Linked DNA regions of Homo sapiens: region 2 is linked to region 1. Evidence: promoter capture Hi-C in human tissues and cell types (Jung and others, 2019). All regions are on one chromosome and are shown on one strand. The core of a region is centred on a gene start or on the middle of the fragment in contact, and the rest is flanking DNA. Distances in the headings are between cores, read along the strand shown.

Region 1 (6,340 bases), core at 1,007-3,506:
ATCTCCTTGTTTTTTCCTGCCTCGTCCAGCCTCCTGCCTGCTGTAATCCTCAAAGGCTCCCCGGGCCAGGCCAAGATCAAGGCTCCCCAAGACCACCACTGAGTGCCCCGGGCTTGGGTTCTGTAGCTGAATCCAGCATCCTTGGTTAGCTAAGTGGCCCTTCACCCTGGCTCAGTGTTCAAGGTTTGGAGGCCAAGGTAGTGGACCTGGCACAGCAGGAAGGAACTGAAGGGTAGGGGAGCTGTCAGGGCAGACCTGGGCTGCATGGGAAACTTACAGAGTCTGTCCTGGAAAAGGAGGGTGATAGTGGAGTTGGCCTTCTCCACTCCCACCACCACCACCTCTACCATCACCACCACCACCACCACCACCACCACCACCACCACCACCACCACCAGGGCCCCTTTCTGGGGAGAAAGGAGCCAGGCAGCCTCCCTGTGGCCTGGGGAGGATGGGATGTGGGGAGGGGATAGAGTAGGAAGACAGGTCAAGGATGCTGGGCTTAGCTGAGGAGCCCAGGCAGAGCTGTGTCTTTCTGCACCTGCCTGGCACTGTAGCTGGTTCTAGGCATGGTCTCAATCCTATGACCCACTCATGGTGTGAGCTTCCCCTTCCCTGGAGGACAGTTCCTGGAGAGGGTGTGGGCCAAGAAAAAGCTCTAACCAGCACCCTGGCCAAATCCCTGGAACCAGCCCTTCCTTCCAGCAGACCGTCCATCAGGCAGGGGCATCCTAGGCCAAGAAGCTCCCAGGGCCAGGTCAGGACCAGGCTCTGGGAGACAGCATTCTAAGGGGAGGGGGTGAGATGGCGGAGTGACCTGGCCAGGGGCTGTGTTCAGGGGCAACTCTGGATGTGAAGAGCTGCTAATGTGGGGGTGGGAGAGGACGAGGTGAAGACCCTGGGTCTGCCCTACTGAGCCCCCAAACTTTCTCCATCTCCAGGGGTCTGAGGGTGGGAAGGCAGTGAAGACACAAGTGGCTCTCACTGGCAGGGGACCGGGAAGACTGGCTGGCGGTAAGGTGAGAACAGTCGAGGCCCCAGTCACTCACCCCCCAAACCACTTCTCCTGTCCCTCCCTGGAGGGGCTCAGAGGCACTCTGTGTAGACAAAGAAACAAGTCAGTATCCATGACTTGGGACAGAGAGTGGAAAAATACCACTGCCATTCCCATGACCTCTGAGCTCTCTGCCTGCCCAGAAACCCCTATGTGGGGGCAGGACATGGACCCATTCTCAGGTGGGGACTTTGGAGTCCAGGGCCTCCAGACCAGGCGAGTGTCCAGTGCCCACCAGGATCCCAGCTCAGGGAGCAGCTGGCCTTCTGCAGGCTGGGTCTGCCCACTGCTGCCCCCAATTGCTGGCTAACCCGCCCCCTCTCCTGGGTCCTGCTGCCAAACCCTGCAGTCATTGCCTGCTCTGAACCTCCGTCCCTTCTGCGCAGGCTGCGCTTGCTCACTCTGCTCATAGGCCCTCCTGCTTTCCAAGAATAAAGTCACTGCACTGCGTGGCACCTGGACCCTGCACACAGTAGGTACTCAGACTGACCCACAGTACAGAACTTGGGGAGCTCAGCCTGCCGCAGCCTGACCAGCCCCTACACTGGTCAAGTTCCTGCGCTAATCGCAGGACTGCAGTCATGGCCATTTCACAGATGAGGAAACTGAGGGTAACTGCCTTGCAAAAGCCCCGCAGCAAAATCGAGTCAGGAGGAAGAGTCCAGCGGTGGAGGGGACCCAAAACTCCCCCAGGTGCAGGCGGCCGGGAGGTGGGAACACGGAGCTTTGGCACCCTGGGCCAGCAGCCCCTGACCTCCCCGCGGTCATAGCGCTCTCTGAGGCCAGACTGCAGGTTCCCCAGGCAGACCCGTCCGAGCGCCCGGAGAGGGGACGCCCCTCGTTCGGAGCGGCTGCGCCCCTCATTCGGCCTCCGCCCGGCGCCCGCCCGCCTGGGTCCCGCTCACCGATGATGATGGTGCAGGCGCTCAGCAGCCCGATCTCCTTCTTGAGCGCCACCCGCTCCGAGGCGCCGGGGACGGTCCCTGGGACTGGGGAGGGCGAGGGCGCAGGCCTGGGGTTCCCGCGCCCGCTCGGCTGCTGCGTGTGGCCGGCCATGTCGCTGTCCCGCCGCGTCCCCGCTCCCTGCGCTGCCCCGTCTGTCCGGCCGGCCGCCCGTCGGTCCGTCGGTCCGTGAGCTCACGGCCCTCGCAGCCGGGACAGCGCCCACAGGCGGGCGCATGCGCTGGCTCCGGGCCCGGGACTGGGGGCCCCGGGCGGCGGGGGCCCGGGAGGGGCGGAAGGAGGGCCGGCCCACAGCCCCCTCCCCCACCTCCCTTAAAGGGAACGCCCCCTCCCCCAGTCCCGGCCTGGGAAGGAAGGAGAGGACTTGGGGCAGATCTAGGAAGGACTTCCCAGTTGGGCGAAGGAAGGGACCCTCCAGTTGCCTGAGTTACATCCATTCTTGGGGCCGGGTTGGGGAGCAGAGCTCCGAGACAAGACAATCCCTGCTCTCAGGGAGGCCGAGGGGGACGGCAAGAATAACAGCTGGCCGCGTGTGGGGATGCAGTGTGTGCTCCCTTTAGTACTCTATGCCTGCACGATGTGTGTGTGTGTGTGTGTGTGTGTGTGTGTGTGTGTGTGTGTGTAGGAGACAGCTCCCAGGGTGAGTCCATTCTACAGGTGGAAGTTGAAGCCCAGAGATCAGTAGCGATCGCCGAGCAAGTGCAGGGCTGAGACCAAACCCTTTCTCGTGCCTCCTGAGGCTCCCAGGCGGACAACCTCAGGAGGGGTGGGGGTTGAGGTCTGGAACTCCTCTGAGGGGTCTGGGTGTCCTATGCACCCTGGATCAAAGGCCTGAGGGTCGAGGTGAAGATCCCGGGGGCTCTCATCCTCATCACGGGGACCCAAGACCTGTGACGAGTCCTGGACACGGCTCGCCCACCCTACCAGGCTCTGGGCCACCTCTGGCCTGAGATCTTCACTACAGGCTCCTCGTCCCAGGTCAGAGTGAGGGCTCAGCGGACTAGAACTCGGGTCTCTGGTGCAGGTCCCGCGCGATCCAGCCCGGCTCAAGAAGGCCAGGCGACCTGGAATGCCCGGGAGACACGGAGAAGGAGGCTGTGGTCGCGGGAGAGGGTCGGGAGTGCGGGGATCCGAGGGAGGCTGCCTCCTCCCGGAAGCCGTCCGGACTGTGCAGCCGAGGCCGGCGGAAAAGATCCAGGGGGGCCGCGTCGGGGCCACCGGGGCGGCGGGCGGGGCGAGCCTGGCACTGTGCGGCCGGCGGCGGAACAGCCTTTGTTTCTTCCTGGCGGCCGCCGCGACGCGCCGTCCCCTGCATGTGGATGAGGCCTCGCCGGGCGCCCCGTCCTTCCCCCCAGTGGCGGCCTCCGGGTTTGCTGGGGCCCTGCCAGGGGTCCGACGGCTGCAGGGTGGACCGGGGTGGGACGGGGCGGGGGCGGGTCCCTGGCAGGGGCGGGTCCCTGGCAGCGGCAGGGCCTGGAGGTGGGAGCGGGGCGGGGCCGGCGTTTGCAGGCACACAGGAGCTTCGAAGTTGGGGGCGGGGACTTGGGGTAGGAGTAGGAGCGGGAGGATCCAGGGTGGACGTGCTGGTGGGACGCCGAGGGGGAGGCCACCCGGCGAAGCTGCATCCCTCTCGCTTCTGTCGTCGGAGACCGGCATTCTTGGCGCCCTCCACCTCCAGCCCCAGAGACCATTCAGAGGCCGACTCTCTTAAAGGAGCCTCGCGCAGGGTAGGGGCAGCCCTGGCTCCGGAGACCCCTGATTGTCGCGGGTGTTAGGGGCCAGAGGCCTCGACCTTCTGGTTTGACTCTCCCCAGCCCCCCAGTTGCCCTCGCAATTCTAGGGTCTGCTGGGAGAGGGTCTAGCCAGGGCTGGTGCAATCAGGGGCAGCTTGCCAAGGGGCAGGGGCTGGCGCAAGCCTCGCAGCTCTGAAGCCTGTGGTTTTCGAGGGTGTCTCTCTGGGACCTGGAATGTGGAGTATGCGTTTGTGGGGGAAAGGTCGGCCTAGGGCTTTGCACAGGATGGAGTTTGTATGTTGTCAGCCAGGCCCCATAGCTCAGGAGGTCCTTTTCGTGGAATTGAACTAGAACCTGCAAATTTCAATGGGAACAAAAGGTTAGTAGGATTGGTTTACCATCCAAAAACCAATCAGCATGATTCTCCACATTAATAGAGAGAAAAAAGGAAAACCTCAACAGATGCAAAAAACAGTCATCCGTGATGTAAACAAACAACTCTTAGCAAATAGAAACAGAAGAGAACCTCCTTAATCTGATAAAAGTATCTACCTAAAAACAAATCTCCAAGAAACCAAGAAACAAACAAAAACCCTACAGCTGACATCATGTTTAGTGGTGAAAGTGTGAATGCTTTTCTACTGAGATTGAAAATGAGAAGGGATGTTGGCACTTGTCAATATTCTATACAATAGTGTACTGGAGGTCCTAGCCAGAGCAATAAGACAAGAAAAATAAGTAAAAAGGTATGAAGATAGTAAAGGGAAAGATAAAGCTGCCATTCACATATGATGTGATTCAGTATGTAGAAAAAAAATTACAGGTTAATTTAAGGAAGATAAGTTCATTTAGCAAAGTCGCTAGACAGAAGTTTAATATACAGAAACTAATTGTATTCTATATACTAGAAATAATTAGAAAATGAAATTAATAATAGCATAAAATCAAATACCTAAAAATAATTCTAGTGAATGATGTGTACAATTTTTATGCAAGAAACTACAAAACATTTCTGAGAGAAATTGTTAAAGACATAAGCTAATGGAGGGATATACCATGTTCATGGATTGGAATTTAAAATGTTGGTCTCCACATTGATTTATAGAATTGATAAATACATCCAATGTAATTTTGATCAAAGCACCAGACAACTTTGTTGTTGATTACAAGGCTTTTTTGGAGGGATGAAACTCAACAAGCTGATTCTAAAGAGTATGTGAAGAAGAACAAATCTGGAGGACTTATACTACAGTAAGGAAGACAGTGTGGCATTGATGCAAAGATAAACAAATCTACTGGTGGAAGAAAACAGAAATCCAGAAACAGACCCATCCTGGTTTATTATGACAAAGTTGATATTGCAGAACAGTGGAGAAAGGACGGGCTTTTCAATAAGTGGTGGTGGATCTATATATTGAAGAAAAAAACCAAAACCCTTTTAATGTCACCCTTCCATTATACCCTAAAACCAGTCCCAGGTGATGTACATGTGAAATGTACGTGTGAAAGGTGAAACATCAAAGCTGCTAGAAGAAAACTCAGGGGAGAGAATAGATACATTTTCTTAAACAGACATAAGAAACACAGTAAGAAAGTGACAGATTGGACTACATTAAGATTAGAAACTTCTGTCAGTCAAAAGACATGATTAAAGAGGAAAGAGTAAGCCACATATGAGAGAAGTTATTTCCATACATATGGCCGATAAAGGACTTCTATCTAAAAATATAAGCATATGAGTTGTATTGAAAAATATGTATCAAATCAATAGGAAAAAGTTTTAAAATAGGCCGGGCATGGTGGTTCATGCCTGTAACCCCAGCACTTGGGAAGGGCAAGGCAGGTGAATCACTTGAGGTCAGGAGTTCGAGACCAGCCTGGCCAACATGGTGAAACCCTGTCTCTACTAAAAATGCAGAGATTGGCCGGGGGTGGTGGTGAGTGCCTGTGGTCCCAGCTAGTCAGGAGGCCGAGGCAGGAGAATCGCTTGAACCTGCGAGGCGGAGGTTGAAGTGAGCTGAGATCATGCCACTGCACTCTAGCCTGGGCAACAGAGCGAGACTCCATCTCAAAAAAAAAAAAAAAAAAAAAAAAAACAAAGGACTTTAAATAGGTGCTTCCCAAAAGAGGATGTCCAATGACTGTTAAACTCCTGAACAGGCACTCAAACCTCATGGGCCATCAGGGAAATGCAAATTAAAACGAGAATAAGATACCACTGAGTAGCCACCAAAATGGTGAAAATTACACACCCAATGTTGGCAAGGATGTGGAGTTGGTACCACCAGTTTGGAAAACCATTTGGCAGTACCTCCAAATCCAGCATCTCCACTCTGTATTAGATGCCTCTTGGATATCACGCCACCTCCCCAGCCCCTAGCCTCACCTTGGTGTCAAGGCTTTGCCACCTTTCCTCCCACTTCAGGTGCAGGTACAACCTGCCAGCACCCCCCATCACCCTCAGGGATTCTCTGATGCCCCTGAGGAATGAGATAATAAGGGACCAATCTGGCACCCACAAACTTGCAATCAGAAATGCAGGAGAGTTAGCACACTCGGGCCTATCCTTGTGTTACTGAATGGTGCCACA
Region 2 (6,340 bases), core at 1,319-3,818, 41 kb after region 1:
AGCCACCATCTCTCTTCATGGGATGGCAGCTCTGGCCTCATCCAGGCTCTTAGCCAACAGAGTGGCCATATTATTATTATTATTTTATTTTATTTTATTTTTTTGAGATGGAGTCTTGCTCTGTCGCCCAGGCTGGAGTGCAGTGGTGCAGTGTCAGCTCACTGCAAGCTCCGCCTCCCAGGTTCACGCCATTCTCCTGCCTCAGCCTCCCGAGTAGCTGGGACTACAGGTGCCCGCCACCACCCCCGGCTAATTTTTTGTATTTTTAGTGGAGATGGGGTTTCACTGTGTTAGCCGGGATGGTCTCGATCTCCTGACCTCGTGATCTGCCCGCCTTGGCCTCCCAAAGTGCTGGGATTACAGGCGTGAGCCACCGTGCCCGGCCCAGAATGGTCGTATTATTAAATGACCACATGATCGGGCTGCTTTCCGAACTTCACCTTCCCACGGTTCTAGGAAGCAGCCACCATTATCATGGTGGCCTCCAGGCTTGCGTGTCTAGCTCCTGTCCTTCCTGCCCTCACCTCCCACACCCCTTGGCTTCCTAGCACCTGCAGTTCTGCCTCGACCCCTCCTCAGTGCCCCGGCTTTTGCAAATGCTCTCCCCTCTGCCTGGAAAACTCTCCTCCCCATGACAACTCCCATGCCTCCTATGGCACTCGGCTTTCCTGTCCTTCATGAAAGCATCCAGGGTCCCCGAGTGCCAAGCTGCAGCAGGTCCCTTGTCTCGGGGCTTCCACCCTCGAGGCGTGAGCTCCCCCTGTCACCATCCTGCCTAGGGATTATGGGTGTAATTCCTACTTCCTGCTCACCTCCTGCCAGACTGTGGGCCTGATGGGGCAGGGACCGAGCCCTCCAGTCTGTCTAGGGCCTGGCCGCACCAGGCAGTGATTGAATGAACAGATCCATAAACACACCGAGAGACACGGATGTACCCAGGCCCATGCACAGACACACAAATGCAGTCACCAGCCATGCACGGAAACTCACATTGACAGACGCTCAACCTCACAAACGTGCAAACCAAAGTTACCTAGAGACGCACGCAGTGACCAAGACACACACACGCCCACTGTCTTCTGTCTATGCTCTGGGCTCACTGCCTCTCATCCAGCCCTGCCCCTCGGGCAGGATCCCCTGCGGGTGTGGGCCTCCTGCACTGCAGCCCTGGCCTTAGCTCCAGGGGGCCAATCCCATGTTATGGGCCCCCAGCAGGATTCTCTGGGCCCCAGCCGTGGTCTTGCCACGTGACTACTTACAAGTGGCTTTTATGCTAAATGCACATAATAGCACATTGGCATAATATCATTGCCAATACTCACAGGTACCATGGTTCACACAGGGAGCATGGTGTGAAGCTCCTCTTACAGGGCTTGTTAGAGGAAAGTTCCAGCTCAGGCAAAGGCTTGGGGTGGAGCGGACAAAGCTACAGTTTGGCCTTTTCCTCAGCAGCGTCCTGCTTCTAGAATCACCACTAAAGTTAACCCAGGCGAGGGGTTCTCTCCCAGCCTCCAGGAGGCTCCAGCTGGAGGCAAACCGCCGGTCTGGGAGAGGTACAGTGGCCAGGGAGAGGAAGGGTTTCAGGGTGGTGTGGGTGGTAGGGGCTGAAGGCAGGGGCAGCAGGGCAGGGCCTGGAGGCCAGCAGCACAGAGGGTCCCCACCTGGCTTCATTTTGGGGGAGGGGGCTGGGCAGGGTATCTGGCGGAGGAAGCAAGAAGGGGTGGCCTCAGAGACTGGCTTGCGGAGATGGGGCTGCATTCCCTGTGGAAGGGAGTGGGCCTTCACGGCTTCAAGGCCGTTTGTCACCTAAAGCAGCTACGGGCATCTTCTCTCTTCCCTCTTTCTTTTTAGAGACAGTGTCTCACTCTGTCTCCCAGGCTGGAGTGCTGGGGTGCGATCATAGCTCACCGCAGCTGCAAACTGCCGGGCTCAAGTGATCCTCCCACCTCAGCCTCCTGAGTAGCTGAGACTACAGGTGGGCACCACCATGCCCAGCCAATTTCTGTATTTTTTGTAGAGATGGCTGTGTTGCCCAGGCTAGTCTCAAAGTCCTGGCCTTAAGCAATTCTCCTGCCTCAGCCTCTTAAAGCACTGGTATTAGAAGAGTGAGCCATGGCGCCCTGCCTCTCTTAAAGATGGCTTTAACCATCACTTACAGCACAGCTGCATCCCTCCTTGGCGGGGTGGGGGAGATTCTTTCCCACCTCTCTGAGTGTCCCCATCTGGGTCCTTGCTCAGTGAGAGCCAGACTTTCTGCTATAACCAGGCCCTGAATGAGAGAGAACCAGAGTCATGTGCTGTGCACCAAATGCAGTGGGAAGACACGAGGGATGCCTCGGTGACCTTCTTTTCAAACAGGAGTCTTTCCCTGGTAACCTGCCTCTGACCTTCCATCAGCCAGATGTTATCTTCCCAAGGCAACAGTGTTCCAGAATTCTTTCTGAGGTGGCCCTGGCAGCTTCTGGGTCCTTCTATTCTGATTTCCAGTTTTCTTTTTCCATTTATTTATTTATTTATTTATTTATTTATTTATTTATTAATTATAGGGTCTTGCTTTGTTGCCCAGGCTGGAGTGCAGTGGCACGAACACAGCTCACTGCAGCCTCAAACTCCTGGGCTCCAGTGATCCTCCCGCCCCAGCCTCCTGTGTAGCTGGGACTACGGGCATGCACCACCATGCCTGGCTAACTTTTTATAGAGATGGGGTCTCACTATGTTGCCCAAGCTGGTCTCAAACTAGCAGACTCAGTGATTCTCCTGCCTCAGCTTTCTGAGTAGCTGGGACCACAGGTGAGCACCATTATGCCTGGCTAATTTTTTATAGAGATAGGGTCTCACTATGTTGCCCAAGCTGGCCTCAGACTAGTGGGATCAAGTGATCCTCCCACCTCAGCCTCCTGAGTAGCTGGAATTACAGGCATGTGTCACCATACTGGGCTAGTATTTGTATTTTTTGTAGAGACAGGGTCTTGCTATGTTGCCCACGTTGTGCTTGAACTCCTGGGCTCAAGCGATCCTCCCACCTTGGCCTCCCAAAGTGTTGGGATTACAGGCGTGAGCCACTGCACCCGGCTCCAGGTGCAGTGGAGCCGGCCCAGGCCTCACCCTTTCTCCAGACCTCACATTCCCAGGCTCGTTGAAGGGAGCAGGGTGCTTCAGGCAAACTTGGGGCTCGGGTCTCCAGGCACTTGGGGTTTTCTCCTCCCCCGGCGCTGGCAGCTGGCCTGGCTTCTCTCGGCTGGAGATGCTGAAGACTCCTCGGCTGGTCTGAGAAGCATGAGAACAGAGCTGGGAAAACTGGCCGTTTTTGTGGTTTGGGGGTTTGATGCAAGTTTCACAACTGATCTCCCAAGAACACGGTCGGTCCGGTCAGATGCGCTCCCTGGCCAGGGGCCTGCTTCCCTGCTGACGCCGGTGCTGACCGCCCGAGGCGGGGGCTCCACTCGCCCTCCCCACCCCATTCCCCGCTTTCCTTCTTTAGGGAACAGCCTGGAGGTGTGGAGAAGATGGCTTTGTTTTGGGGGCTTTCGTGGTTTCCACCTCATCCTTCAGCCTGGGGAGAGCTGACGGCCTGGTACCCCTCACTCTCATCCTGGAGTTTTTCTCAGACACCTCTGGGCAGCTGTTCTTAAAGCTTTCATTTTGAGGGGACAGTGGGCCAAGGACGTCTTTTGTAGTGATAATCTTGGGCCGGGGCTGATGAGTGGGAAGTCTTAGAAAGACCTGCTCTAGGGCTCCGGGAGAGATGAGGGCCGCCAGGGAGGCACACACCTCCGTAGCCAGCCCACTCCAGGAACCCAGAGCTGCCTCCCCGGCAGACAGCTGGGCTGGGGAGGGGGTCCTCAAGACCTGGCCCTGCCTCCAAGTAGCCTGGCCCCCGGACCTATCCTTCCACCCTGGGAAGTCCCGAGCTGCCTCAGGCCAGCTGGGGCAGAACTGAAATTGGTGACATGTGCCTCTCTGGTCCCTTGACTCCCGCCCCCGCTCCCTCACCCCCAGAGTCTTCCTGAAGGAGCCTCCAGACCCAGCGAGGAGCCACAGGCAATGCCCACCCTGAGTGGGAGCTGCTGTCCTGCCTTCCACGTGGCCCCAGCCTAGCTCGCCCTTGCGTGAACTGGGAGCTGCCCCACTTCCGGAGGTTGGTGCGTGGTTCTAGATCCTGTCGTCCCTCCGCTTGGGGGCACAACGGGCTGGGACCCATGCACGTTTCTCAGACACTCCATCTCTCATCTCACAGAGCAGGAGGGGTCTGCAAAGGGCAGGCTGGTCAGGACACAGTGTGAGGCAGGGGGCCCCGGGGAACAGAGTCCAGGCTCCACCTCTGCTGAGCAGGCAGTCCTGAGTGTTGTTACCAAGTTTGGGTGAGGGCCTGGGACCCTGTCACATCACAGCTGGGGAAACGGCCAGGGCTGGGACTCAGTGGCGAACAGCAGAACCCAACAGGCGGCCGCACAGACTCACGACCAGGGGGCTCGGTCAGAGGTGGGGACAGAGGGTGACCTGGACTTGCTGAGTCAAGGAGTCAGGCCAGCGCTGCGGAGAATCCCACAGGGCTACGCTTGGGGGCCAAGGAGAGGCACGTGGCCAGGCACATCTGGGTGGACAGAGGGGTTCCAGCCACTCACAGAGCCCTCTCAGTCAGAGCCAGATAAGCCTGGGCAACTGAGCCACTCAGGCAGGGAGCGGGCGGGCATCTGAGGTCCCCAGGGAGTCTGCCCTCCTGGTGGGCACAGCTGGGCCCAGATGAGGCCCACAGCATTGGGACTGGGCAGAGACACCCAGACATGGCTGCTGCTGTGGGCCCCAGGAAGGCCCCATATTTGGGGTGCATCTGCCGGGTGCCTGCGTCCCCTTCCCGTTCCCTATCCCTGTGCCCCCCTCCCAGCTTCCTGTTTCTGTTTTGGGGCTGCAGGAACTTCCTCTTCTCATCACGGACCAAAATGGCTTCTTGGTCTCAGCTGAAGGCCTGGCGGGGGGCTGGTCACCCCAGCCTGAAGGACAGCCACAGAGCGAGGGGGGCTCCGAGCCTCTGGGGGCGGTGACATCTGCCAAAGGGTGAACTGTGGCCCTTTCCCAAGAGACTCCCACAGCTCCTCCGATGGAGCCTGTCATGTGAGCACCTGCCCAGGCCACGGAGGGCCTGGGTCCTGCTGGAGTGACCCTAAACGGCCCCCTTGTGCCCTTCCCGCCTCACGCAAGGGACCCAAAATATGGATTGCCTGGTCTCCCCTTCCTCCTGCTCCCTCCCAGGCACATGGTGCAGACACTTACGGGCACCGTGTTGGCCTATGTGTGTGGATGAGCAAATACACACACACGGGGTAGGGGGGTGCCCTGAGCCTGTGACCCCCTGAGCCGGTGACCCCTGCCTGCCAGGGAGCAGAGCTGCAGATTCCTGGATGCCGAGGGAATAGAAGGCCTGGCCCGGCCTGGGCAGTACATGGTGAGGGTGTGTGTGTGTGTGTGTGTGTGTGTGTGTGTGTCTGGGTGAGTGTGCCTCTACGCATGTCTAGGGGGCACCATCCTTTTCCTCCCACTCCCCCTGCCCCCTTCCCCTGAGCAGAGCTGCTCCCTTAAATAAAGCTGAGCTGTGCCCTTTGGAGCCCCTGGGCCCTCGAGGGAGTGCAGGGTGACAGAGTGGGCTCCCCTTACTCCTGGGACTCCTCACTCAGGGGGAGCCTGTGGTGGGTGTTGGGGGAGGGCGTAGGAGGTGGGCACACGCCAGGGAGGGCACACAGGATGGTGGCCCCTGATCCCCTGGAGTTGTGATGCCCACAGGAGGGGTGCTTTACCAGGCTTGGGCACCCCAGGAACATCCTGGCCTTGGGATGGGGTGTGGGGGTAAATGGGGGACGGTGCTGAGAGGCCGAGCCCCGGTCTACCTCCCTGCCCATCCAGGGGTCCCGGGATGGAGTTGAGGAGCCAGATGCATCCTCTGGGGGGTTGTGGCCTGGGTCAAGGTCAGGACAGCGCCAGGGAAACTCCTGCTACCAGCTGCCCCTAGCCCCAGGCTGCCGCTGCTGTCCAGAATTCACCCAGCGTTCACTCCATGCCAGGCACCAACACGGACAGCTCCTTTAATGCCCGATGTCCATCCTTGTCACGGACAGGTGAGTACCCTGTGGCCAAATGGGCAGGAGGTTGTGGAGCCTGGCACCCACACTGCAGAGATGCCGAACTCTGGCCAGCGGCCTCCCTCCCCAAGGCCCGCTCCATGGGGAGACAGTGAGGGGAACCCACAAAGCCTGGGGTCACTGGGTCCCCCTAGCTGGCACCTAGCTTGTGCCCCCATTAGCACAGAGAGGAGGCGGTAAAACAAACACTCCCGACTGTTTACCCC

What was found. Contacts are between HindIII fragments. The study calls those that stand out against the background at their distance.
Region 2: a contact is called between a fragment that was not itself captured here and the fragment with the promoter of SLC7A10 in region 1, in 1 of the 25 tissues and cell types used here (spleen).

The regions. Positions count from the first base shown.
Region 1 is chr19:33,223,594-33,229,933 of GRCh38, forward strand. It overlaps SLC7A10 (solute carrier family 7 member 10), which reads right to left and starts at 2,257. Exons shown (of 11, transcript NM_019849.3): 1 at 1,960-2,257. The coding sequence starts at 2,110. The HindIII fragment of the contact is 48,714 bases long and covers 1-6,340 here.
Region 2 is chr19:33,263,882-33,270,221 of GRCh38, forward strand. No RefSeq gene overlaps it. Among named protein-coding and RNA genes, the nearest start is that of CEBPA, 35 kb to the right of the region's middle. The HindIII fragment of the contact is 4,860 bases long and covers 139-4,998 here.